Regions from separate parts of the Homo sapiens genome. Here region 2 is linked to region 1. The links are contacts of gene promoters, found by promoter capture Hi-C in human tissues and cell types (Jung and others, 2019). All regions are on one chromosome and are shown on one strand. The core of a region is centred on a gene start or on the middle of the fragment in contact, and the rest is flanking DNA. Distances in the headings are between cores, read along the strand shown. Region 1 holds the start of ACOT7 (acyl-CoA thioesterase 7). Region 2 has its middle 4.4 kb from the start of CAMTA1-DT.

Region 1 (5,391 bases), core at 1,164-3,663:
AAATTAGCCAGGCGTGGTGGCGCACTCTTGTAGTCCCAGCTACTCGGGAGGCTGAGGCCCAAGAATCACTTGAGCCCAGGAGGCAGGGGTTGCAGTGAGCTGAGATCGGGCCACTGCACTCCAGCCCGGGTGACAGAGTGAGACTCTGTCTCAAAAAACAAAAAATCTAGTAACTGTTAGAAGCTGGGTGAAAAAAGACAACATGTATAAATTGGCTATTCACCACCCTGAAGAAGTAAATAAAAGGCCAGCCTTCCACGGGAAGATTTAAATCAAGGTTTCCTTTATTCAGGAGAGGGGTGGGAAGAATACTGGATCTGGAGTCAGAAGACTTGGGCAGGGGCTGTCCCTGGATCTCCTGGAGCAGGATGACCTTACACAGTTACTCAACTCCCAAAACTGCCATTTCCTCCTCCACACAGGTAAGGGTGGCACTACCGACCATCAACCTCCCAGGGAATTGGGCAAACCAAGTGGGATGAGACAGGTATAAGCTCTTTGCAAACCATGGAGCCCAAGTTTCCCAGCCAATACTCAGCAGAGCTGATTCAGGAACCTGATGCAGGCTGTCTGTCTCCAGTTATTTCCTTTTTTTTTTTTGCCCCGCTTTCCCCACCTCCAGAGTCGATGGGACCAGAACAGCCACAGAGCCAAAGTCAAAGGGGCAGGGCTCCCCCAAAGACGTTCCCCCTCTGGAAAAGTCAAAACCGACCTTGAGGTAAGGAGAGGCCCTCGACCAGGCCAGAAGATGAGACTGAGAGTCAAGAATCGCCATAGACCCAGGACTTGCTATATGCCCAGCCTTCCTGGAGATGTCAACATCTACAGGAAAGTAACTTGCTTCTATTGGACTTGGCTTGAGCCCAAGGTCAGTCTGTGATGCCCAACCCCCAAATGTGAGGAACCCACTACCAAAACAGAAAGCAGCTCTCACTCCTGGTAGTTCATCAAGCAGGATAGGACCGGTCGCAGGCCACAGAGCCTGTGTGCAGTGGCTGAAAACCTAGACTCCTTGTCCTCACTTAGCTCATGCACAAATGCCAGCCTGCTGCTTCCGATTCTGCCGAAGAGAACTGCAGAGTAACCTTCAGGCTGCCCTCCCCACCTCCTATGGGAAATGAGCTTGTTCATGATCTCCAGCCTCCAGCTTCCTCTGGGGGCCTGCATCTATCTACTCAGTACCTGGTGGAAGAAGAGGGGGTGCTCTAGAAGGACAACCCTTTGCCTCTATTGTGTAAGATGCTTTCAGGCCCAACAGACCACTGATTCCCTTTTCTTCATAGTAAACTGTTAGAGGTAGACAGTATTATCTGTTCTTCCTTTCAACACCTGCCCTCCCCCAAACCGAAGCAGTGCACTGAAGACGGTAGCTCTGCAACCTCCTCCCACAGGGGCACCCACCGAGGGGCTCGCGCGGCTCTGGGCACCTCCCCTCCACCTCTGGGGGCTTTGGTTAGCGCAGCACAACCGCCGAGGTAATGATCCCGAATCCTCGAGGAGGCTAAGCAGGACCACGGGGCTGAGGCTCCGGGATGCTCGGGCGAGGCCCGAGGCGGGGCGGCCCACGGGCGCCGGTCGCCGGGCTCTGGAGCTGTGCATTGACCTCCGCCCGCCCCGTCCCTGCCTGGCTTTCTCGCCCAAACGGCCCGTGGCGCGGCCGCCGCCCTGGAGATGCGGCCAGGAGGAGCCGGCTGGAGGCGGGCGGGGGCCGCCCGGCTTGTGCGGCATCGCGAGTCGCATCCCGGCCGGGCGGGCGTCCGGGGCGGCGGCGCGGAAGGCCGTGCGGGGAATCGGCGGGCGGGGGCGGCCTCGGCGGGTGGGGACCACAGAGCCAAGCGGGGCAGGCCTGGGGCGGTGACCGGCGCGCCTGGCCGCTGCAGGCTGCGCGCGGGCCCTCTCTTACCGGCAGATCTGGATGGCGGACGGCGTCTCGACGTCTGGGCCCGACATGCTGGGGGCTGCGGCGGCGGATGCGGCGGGCGGCTGCAGAAGGGCGCAGGTGTCTGGCAGGCCCGGCGCGGAATGAATGAGCCCGGGCCGCGCCATAAAGGGGGAGGGCAGAGGTGGAGCGATGGGGCTGGTGAGGCGGGGCCTGCGCGCCGGGGGCAATCGAACGCGGCCTCCCCGCGCCGACCCCGCCCCCGCGCCGGCCCCACCCCGAGCCCCGCCTCCCAGGCCGCCAAGGCTGCAGAGAGCTCGCGCGGGCGTACGATTCTGGCGGCGTGGGGGCCCAGGCAGCCGCCGCTTCCAGAAGGTTCGGTGGCGGTTGGGCCGCGCCGGTGCGGGGAAGGCCCGCTAGCCGCGGCAGCCGCGCCCGACCCGGTGGCAGCCCCGAGGGAAGCGTCTGGGGCGGCCTAAGTGGCGGAGCAGGGCGGACTTGGGCCCTCACTCTCCGCGCGGCGGTAAATATTTGTGCTGGGCGTTCCCGGCCGCCCGCGCCGCCGATTCGCTGCCGCGCCCAGTGCCTGGGCGGCCGGATGAGGTCAGAGCGGAAGGCGCGGCCCGGGCTCCTGGCAGTGGGGCCTGATTCCCACCCCCGCCCCCAACCCACCCCGGCACCAGTCGCCCGCATCGCGGCTCTCGCTAAGATCGGCCCTAAGAGAGAATGGAAGGCTGTTTCCTAGAAAGGAGCATTGGTGGCGGCTGCTGGGAAGACACGGGGAATGGAACGGGCCTTTGCTTCCGCAGCACAAAGCGTCACGAGGTGGGGAGGAGGAAAGGCCGGCGACTATCTACACCGCCGCCTGCAGCTTTTACTGGGAGCGCTGAGCGCCAGCCTGGAGGTGCACGTGTTGCAGTGAGGAGCCCTGAAACATGCGTGTTTTACTGCACAAGATGTGCCCTTGAATGGAGTCTAGGCCAGTCGGGGTCACCAAAAAAAATCCACCAAAAAACACCCAAGAAGGGAGAAGCGGTCACCCCCCACGTGCTGGAATGACAGCTTTTTACTTGCTAGGCAGTTGGACCTTTTCCGAATTTTCTACAATGCACATAGATTTGTACTTACATCTTTAAATTAAAACCCACGCAACTCCGGCTCCCTAGTGCAATTTGAACAACCCATTTACACTCAGCTAGGTAGCTCTGAAGGAACTGTGCCTCACCCCGGTCACCCTTGAGTTACCAGACCGTGGAGGCAGCCCACAGCATGATCTGTAGCTCCCAGAAGCAGGGGCAGTCAAAGTCAGAACTCTGTGATTTCAAGACTTTTATACTAAGAATTTTGTTTTTCTGTTTTCTTTTTTTTTTTTTTTTTTTGAGACGGAGTCTTGCTCTGTTGCCCAGGCTGGAGTGCAGTGGTGCAATCTCAGCTCACTGCAAGCTCCGCCTCCCAGGTTCACGCCATTCTCCTGCCTCAGCCTCCCAAGTAGCTGGGACTACAGGCGCCTGCCACCACGCCCGGCTAATTTTTTGTATTTTTAGTAGAGACGGGGTTTCACTGTGTTAGCCAGGATGGTCTTGATCTCCTGACCTTGTGATCTGCCCGCCTCTGCCTCCCAAAGTGGTGGGATTACAGGCGTGAGCCACCACGCCTGGCCTGTTTTCTTTTTTTGATATAGAGTCTCGTTCTGTCGCCCAGGCTGGAATGCAGTGGTGTGATAGCTCACTGTAACCTCTGCCATCCAGTTTCAAGCAATTCTCCTGCCTCAACCACACTGAGTAGCTGGGACCATAGGCATGCACCACCACGTTTGGCTTATTTTTGTATTTTTAGTACAGATGTGTCCAGAATTGGTGGGTTCTTGGTCTCACCGACTTCAAGAATGAAGCCGCGGACCCTCGTGGTGAGTGTTACAGCTCTTAAGGTGGCGCATCTGGAGTTTCTTCCTTCTGGTGGGTTCGTGGTCTCCCTGGCTCAGGAGTGAAGCTGCAGACCTTCACAGTGAATGTTAACGGCTCATAAAGGCAGTGTGGACCCAAAGAGCGAAAGAACAACACTCCTACAGCGTGGAAGGGGACCAGAGTGGGTTGCCACTGCTGGCTCGGGCAGCCTGCTTTTATTCTCTCATCTAGCCCTACCCACATCCTGCTGATTGGTAGAGCAGAGTGGTCTGTTTTGACAGGGTGCTGATTGGTGTGTTTACAATCCCTGAGCTAGACACAAAGGTTCTCCATGTCCCCACCAGATTAGCTAGATAGAGTGTCGACACAAAGGTTCTCCAAGTCCCCACCAGCGTAGTTAGATACAGAGTGTTGATTGGTGCATTCACAAACCCTGAGCTAGACACAGGGTGCTGATTGGTGTGTTTACAAACCTTGAGCTAGATACAGAGTGCCGATTGGTGTATTTACAATCCCTTAGCTAGACATAAAGGTTCTCCATGTCCCCACCAGACTCAGGAGCCCAGCTGGCTTCACCCAGTGGGTCCCGCACTGGGGCTGCAGGTGGAGCTGCCTGCTAGTCCCGCACTGTGTGCCCACACTCCTCAGCCCTTGGGTGGTCGATGGCACTGGGTGCCGTGGAGCAGGGGGCGGTGCTCATTGGGGAGGCTCGGGCCGCACAGGAGCCCATGGAGTGGGGGGAGGCTCAGGCATGGCGGGCTGCGGGTCCCGAGCCCTGCCCCGGGGGAAGGCAGCTAAGGCCCTGCGAGAAATTGAGCACAGCAGCTGCTGACCCAGGTGCTAAGCCCCTCACTGCCCGGGGCCGGCGGGGACGGCCGCGGCTCCGAGTGCGAGGCCCGCCGAGCCCACGCCCACCTGGAACTCGCCCTGGCCCGCAAGCACCGCTCGCAGCTCCGGTTCCGCCCACGACTCTCCCTCCACACCACACCGCAAGCTGAGGGAGCCGGGTCCGGCCTTGGCCAGCCCAGAAAGGGGCTCCCACAGTGCAGCGGCAGGCTGAAGGGCTCCTCAAGTGCCGCCAAAGTGGGAGCCCAGGCAGAGGAGGCGCTGAGAGCGAGCGAGAGCTGTGAGGACTGCCAGCATGCTGTCACCTCTCACAGATAGGGTTTCACCATGTTGGCCAAGCTGGTCTTGAACTCCTGACCTCAGGTGATCCACCCACCCCAGCCTCCCAAAGTGCTGGGATTACAGGCCTGAGCCACCTCGTCCGGACGCAGACTTTTGTTTTTTAGTGAGAATTAAGTTGATGCAAGCATCAAGGGCCCCCAAGCCTGTTCAAACACCACCTCTTCCCAATTGAATCCTGAAATGGTTGGAAGCAGTAACTAGATTTAGAGCCTCAGGCAAGGTAGTTTCCTTTTTTTTTTTTTTTTTTTTTTTAAATCTTTTGAGACAGAGTCTTGGCTCTGTCACCCAGGCTGGAGTACAGTGGCACAATCCCTGCTCACTGCAGCTTCTGCCTCCAGAGCTCAAGCAGCCCTCCCACCTCAGCCTCCTGAGTAGCTGGAGCCACAGGCATGTGCCACCATGCTCAGCTAATTTTTGTAC
Region 2 (5,236 bases), core at 2,111-4,610, 390 kb after region 1:
CCTTTACTTCTTTTTTTTTTAAATTTAAGACAGTTTCGCTCTGTTGCCCAGGCTGGAGTGCAGGCTGGAGTGCAGTGGTGTGATCTCGGTTCATTGCAACTTCCGCCTTCCAGTTCAAGCAATTGTGCCTCAGCCTCCTGAGTAGCTGGGATTGCAGGTGCATGTCACCATGCCAGCTAATTTTTGCATTTTTAGTACAAACGGGGTTTTGCCATGTTGGCCAGGCTGGTCTCAAACTCCTGACCTCCAGTGATCTGCTCGGCTTGACGTCCCAAAGTGTTGGGATTACAGGCGTGAGCCACCGCACCTGGCCATACCTCCATTTTTTAAATGGCTGCATAATATCCCACAGCTTAATACTTAAAGAAAAAATAAATTGCTTGTCCAGTTTGAAAAATGGAAAGCCTAATGATGGTGAAATGCCTCTGCGCCCACACCCTTTTCATTTATACCCGTAGATGGTAGCGGTCTGGTTTTCCTTGGGTGCTCCTCAGTGGTTTCCAAAGACTATGATGGGACAACTCAGCAGCGTTTCCCGTCAGGCACTTTGATAGGTCATTTTACTTTCAACAACTAAACAAAGTTTCCTGGGAAGACTGAGAGTCAAAAGAAACTACATTTGAAAGTGTGGCGTAAATAAGAAAACAAAAAAACAAAACTTGACTTGAGCAGTCTTACAATCTCCCTAAGCTGCATGGAGTGCAAGTGGGTTTGCTGTGCAGATGCTAGAGTCCCCTGGCCCCTCCCTCCAATCAGATTACTGCCCCAAGCTTTCTCTATACAGAGATTTCGGGGGGTTCCACTACTGAGGTCTCTCTGGGTCTCAGGAAGTAGAGGGGTGATCCTGGTCTACGAAATGCATTAATGTCCGTGGTCAGGAAGTTCTTTGTATTTGTCCATCTGAACCAGCAAAGCCCAATCTCTCCAACCTTTTCTCCCTTTAGAAAAGATCCATTTCTGCCGGGCGTGGTGGCTCACACCTGTGAGGGGTGAGCACTTTGGGAGGCCGAGGTGGGAGGATTACAAGGTCAAGAGATCGAGACCATCCTGCCCAACATGGTGAAACCCCGTCTCTACTAAAAATACAAAAATTAGCTGGGCGTGGTGGCACACGCCTGTAGTCCCAGCTACTCGGTAGGCTGAGGCAGGAGAATCTCTTGAACCCATGAGGCAGAGGTTGCAGTGAGCCGAGATCGTGCCACTGCACTTCAGCCTGGGTGACAGAGTGAAACTCTGTCCCCTTCCACCAAAGAAAAACCAAAACAAAAAGAAAAGAACCATTTCTTTGATCATGGGTTCAAATGCAATAAAAACTATCAGGCTGTAATACCAGAAGGCTCAAGAGGGAGTGGAAAGCCTCCAGTTTCAAAGGGAAAGTCCAGAAAAAACTGGACTGATTCTTAAAAGTAGTGTATGAAGGTGAGATACATTCCACTGAAGGCATTTAGGTATCACTCCAAGGAGGGTCTCTGGAGAGCAAGTGCACTTGGGCGTGTTTTATGTAATAGCTGGATGATGAGGGCAAGTATTATGATTATAACTATTGCTTAAATAATATCTCCTGAAACCCCAATGAAAAAAGATAATGGTCTGTTCTAGGTTTTAATTGCTAAAAGGAAAACAAAACTGTCATTCGTGGTGTGGTTGGTTCTCAGACCTACTGCTGTCAGTAAATACTGAACAAATGAAACTACAGATTCATTTCAAAATTTCAACAGATTCCTGGGCCACAAAGCCTTTCCCTTTCGTGTTCAAATGATATTTTTTTATTTTTATTTTTTGAGACAGACGTCTGCTCTGTCACCCAGGCTGGAGTGCAGTGGCTGGATCTTGGCTCACTGCAACCTCTGCCTCCTGGGTTCAAGCGATTCTTGTACCTGAACCTCCTGAGTAGCTGGGACTACAGGCATGCGCCACCACGCCTTGCTAACTGTTATATTTTTAGTAGAGATAGGGTTTTGCCATGTTACCCAGGCTGGTCTTAAACTCCTGGCCTCAAGTGATTTGCCCAGCTCGACCTCCCAAAGCGTTGGGATTACAGGCATGAGCCATCTCACCTGGCCGATATTTCAAGTAAGTTGAAATTCAGGCCTACTAGGCCCAAATATCTCATTATATTTGGGGTATCCAACAAATCTTTACTCTTGCATATTAACAGTAGACATTCTGAGATTATAATGCCTGACGTAATTGGGATGCAGAGAAGAGGAAAGGTGACCATTTGCAGGATAGGAAAACAGGGACCATCTGGTGAAGGGTTGGTTCCAACAAAGTCCACAAGTTTTCATTGTTTCATCTTGAAAAGGTAAGGGGACATAGGAGCTCTCTGTATGATTTCTTATCACTGCATGTGAATCTAATTATCTCAAAATTAAAAAAATAGTTAAAGACAAGGGGAGAAACTTTTTGGAAATGGAACTTTTGAATATTATTACTTTTAACCATGCAGCCCCTTGGTGGCTAAAGGAGGCACAGGTTTTTTGTTGCCCTGTGCAGGGGTAAAATAAGCTTGGGATGATGAGCTTCTCTTTTATTTTTTTGAGACGGAGTCTCGCTTTGTCTTCCAGGCTGGAGTGCAGTGGCATAATCTTGGCTCACTGCAACTTCCTCCTCCCAGGTTTAAGCAATTCTCCTGCCTCAGCCTCCCCGGTAACTGGGATTACAGGCGCGTGCCACCATGCCCAGCTAAATTTTTATTTTTAGTTAGAGATGGGGTTTCACCATCTTGGCCAGGCTGGTCTTGAACTCCTAACCTCGTGATCCACCCGCCTTGGCTTCCCAAAGTGCTGGGATTACACGTGTGAGCCACTGTGCCCGGCCTGAGCTTCTAAGTGTTTAAGCTTCTGAAATGGGTTTACTCCATGCTTTCCTCTCCCAATCCAGTAATATGGAAGCTTCGGTAACTTCCAATTTAAGGAAGCAAGTCCAAGCACTTTTATTTTTATCACCACCAGTAATATAAACAGCCACTTTACTTTGGAAAGCTGACCAGGAAGAAGCCTCTTTTGCACCTCTTTGGGGTCAAAAAGTAACAATTTAATATTCCCACTATTTCCCTTATATGTTCTGTTTCTGGACAGTAAAATTCTTTCCTTGAAGGACATTAGGGCCAAAATGGGCAAGGATTCCGAGATTGGTACATCGAGCGTTATCTTCCAACTCTCTTTTCTAAATGGGCTCATTTAGTAATGCAAGCTGCTTCCTTTACTTGAAATGCCCATCTCTTGGTTACCCTCCCAAGCAAACAGAAACACCAACCAGCCAGCCCCAAAAAGATCTCATTCTCTAGCCCAGTGGTTCCCAAACTCTTGAGTCTCAAGATCTTTTTCCACACTTAAAATTTAAGGATTCAAGCTGGGCGCGGTGGCTCACGCCTGTAATCCCAGCACTTTGGGAGGCTGACGCCAGCGGATAACGAGGTCAGGAGTTTGAGACCAGCCTGACCAACATGGTGAAACCCCGTCTCTACTAAAAATACAAAAATTAGCCAGGTATGGTGGCGGGTGCCTGTAATCCCAGATACTCAAGAGGTGAGGCAGGAGAATCGCTTGAACCCGGGAGGCAGAGGTTTCAGTGAGCCGAGATCGTGCCACTGCACTCCAGCCTGGGCAACAGAGTAAGACTCCGTTGGAGACCATCACGGACAACGTGGCAAAACCTCATCTCTACAAAAAATACAGGTGGGCATGGTGGCGCCCACCTGTATTCCTAGCTACTCAAGAGGCTAATTGCTTGAGCCCAGGAGGTTAAAGCTGCAGTGAGCCTTGATTGCACGGCACTCCAGCCTGGGCAACAGAGTGAGACCCTATCTCAAAAGAACAACAAAAAAGAGAATAAACCCATTACATGTCAACATAAATCCTATTTTTATGAGAAATACCTACATTTTCTAAAATAAAATTAGTGGTAAGTGTGAGATTGTTTTAGTTTTGCAAATCACTTTAATATCTGACAGTAGAAGACTGCTGGATTCTTCTCTGCTTCTGAATCTTCTGCATTCAGCCTGTTGTGAGATCACGTATCTTGCAGCCTCTGGAAAACACTGCACACAGAGTGCAGTGTTGGGAGAAATTGACATATCATTGCTATAAAAATAGTTCTGAAGTCAGGTGTGGTGGCTTATGCCTGTAATCCGTGCACTTCAAGAGGCTGAGGTGGGAGGATCACTCGAGCTCAGGAGTTTGAGACCAGCCTGGGCAACAAGGTGAGACCCTGTCTCTACAAAACTTAAAAATTAGCTGGGCATGGTGGTGCATGCTTGTGGTTCTAGCTACCGGGGAGGCTGAGGTGGGAGGATTACTGCAGCCCAGGAGTTCGAGGCTACAGTGAGCTTTGATGGCACTACTGCACTCCAGCCTGGGCGACAGAGCAGGACCCTGTCTAAAAAAGTTTTGACTTTTGGGTCCCTTGAGTCTTGGGGCTCCCTCTGCTCGACCAAGGTCCCTAGAGAACCACTGTTTTGAGAACCACTGTTGTGGCCTGAGGCTAAGGTAATTTCAATGGTGATGGTGTTGAGGCCCAGGTGATGTTTGTGACCTTCTCCGGTGTTCCCATCGCACCTGTCCTGCTGCTGCTTATGTTTGTGAACCTGGCCAAGTTGGGAGTCTCTTGAAGGAAGACACTCAACTTTATTCACCTTTCTTTCAATTTAAATGAGTGTTTTAATGATAAAAGTAACATAGAGGCCAGGCGTGGTGGCTCATGCCTGTAATCCCAGCACTTTGGGAGGCTGAGGCAGGCGCATCACTGGAGGTTGGGAGTTTGAGACCACCCTGACCAACATGGAGAAACCCTGTCTCTATTAAAAATACAAAATTAGCTGAGCATGGTGGCGCATGCCTGTAATCCCAGCTACTCTGGAGGTTGAGGCAGGAGAATCGCTTGAACCCGGGAGGCAGAGGTTGCGGTGAGCCGAGATTGCGCCATTGAACTCCAGCCTGGACAACAAGAGTGAAACTCCATCTCAAAAAAACAAAACAAAAAAAAAACCAAAAAACAACAACAAAAACAGCTATATTATAGAAAATAGGCAATTAAAAAAAACTCACTTATAATCCCCCATACGTCATTTATTTGGTGTATGTTATCAGTCTATTTTTTTTTTTTTTGAGGTGGAGTCTTGCTCTTGTCACCCAAGCTGGAGTGCAGTGGTGCGATATTGGCTCACTGCAACCTCTGCCCGCTGGGTTCAAGCAATTCTCTTGCCTCAGCCTTCCAAGTAGCTGAGACCTCAGGC

What was found. The method cuts DNA at HindIII sites, captures the fragments that hold promoters and counts their contacts. A contact is called where the count stands out against the background at its distance.
Region 2: a fragment that was not itself captured here is called in contact with the fragment with the promoter of ACOT7 in region 1 in 1 of the 25 tissues and cell types used here (pancreas).

Annotation. Positions count from the first base shown.
Region 1 is chr1:6,391,354-6,396,744 of GRCh38, forward strand. ACOT7 (acyl-CoA thioesterase 7) reads right to left here and starts at 2,414. Exons shown (of 9, transcript NM_007274.4): 1 at 1,904-2,414. The coding sequence starts at 2,046. RefSeq lists silencers at 1,725-1,814, 2,085-2,534 and enhancers at 1,763-2,274, 2,275-2,787, 2,788-3,298, 4,051-4,575. The HindIII fragment of the contact is 35,573 bases long and covers 1-5,391 here.
Region 2 is chr1:6,777,937-6,783,172 of GRCh38, forward strand. No RefSeq gene overlaps it. Among named protein-coding and RNA genes, the nearest start is that of CAMTA1-DT, 4.4 kb to the right of the region's middle. The HindIII fragment of the contact is 3,443 bases long and covers 1,640-5,082 here.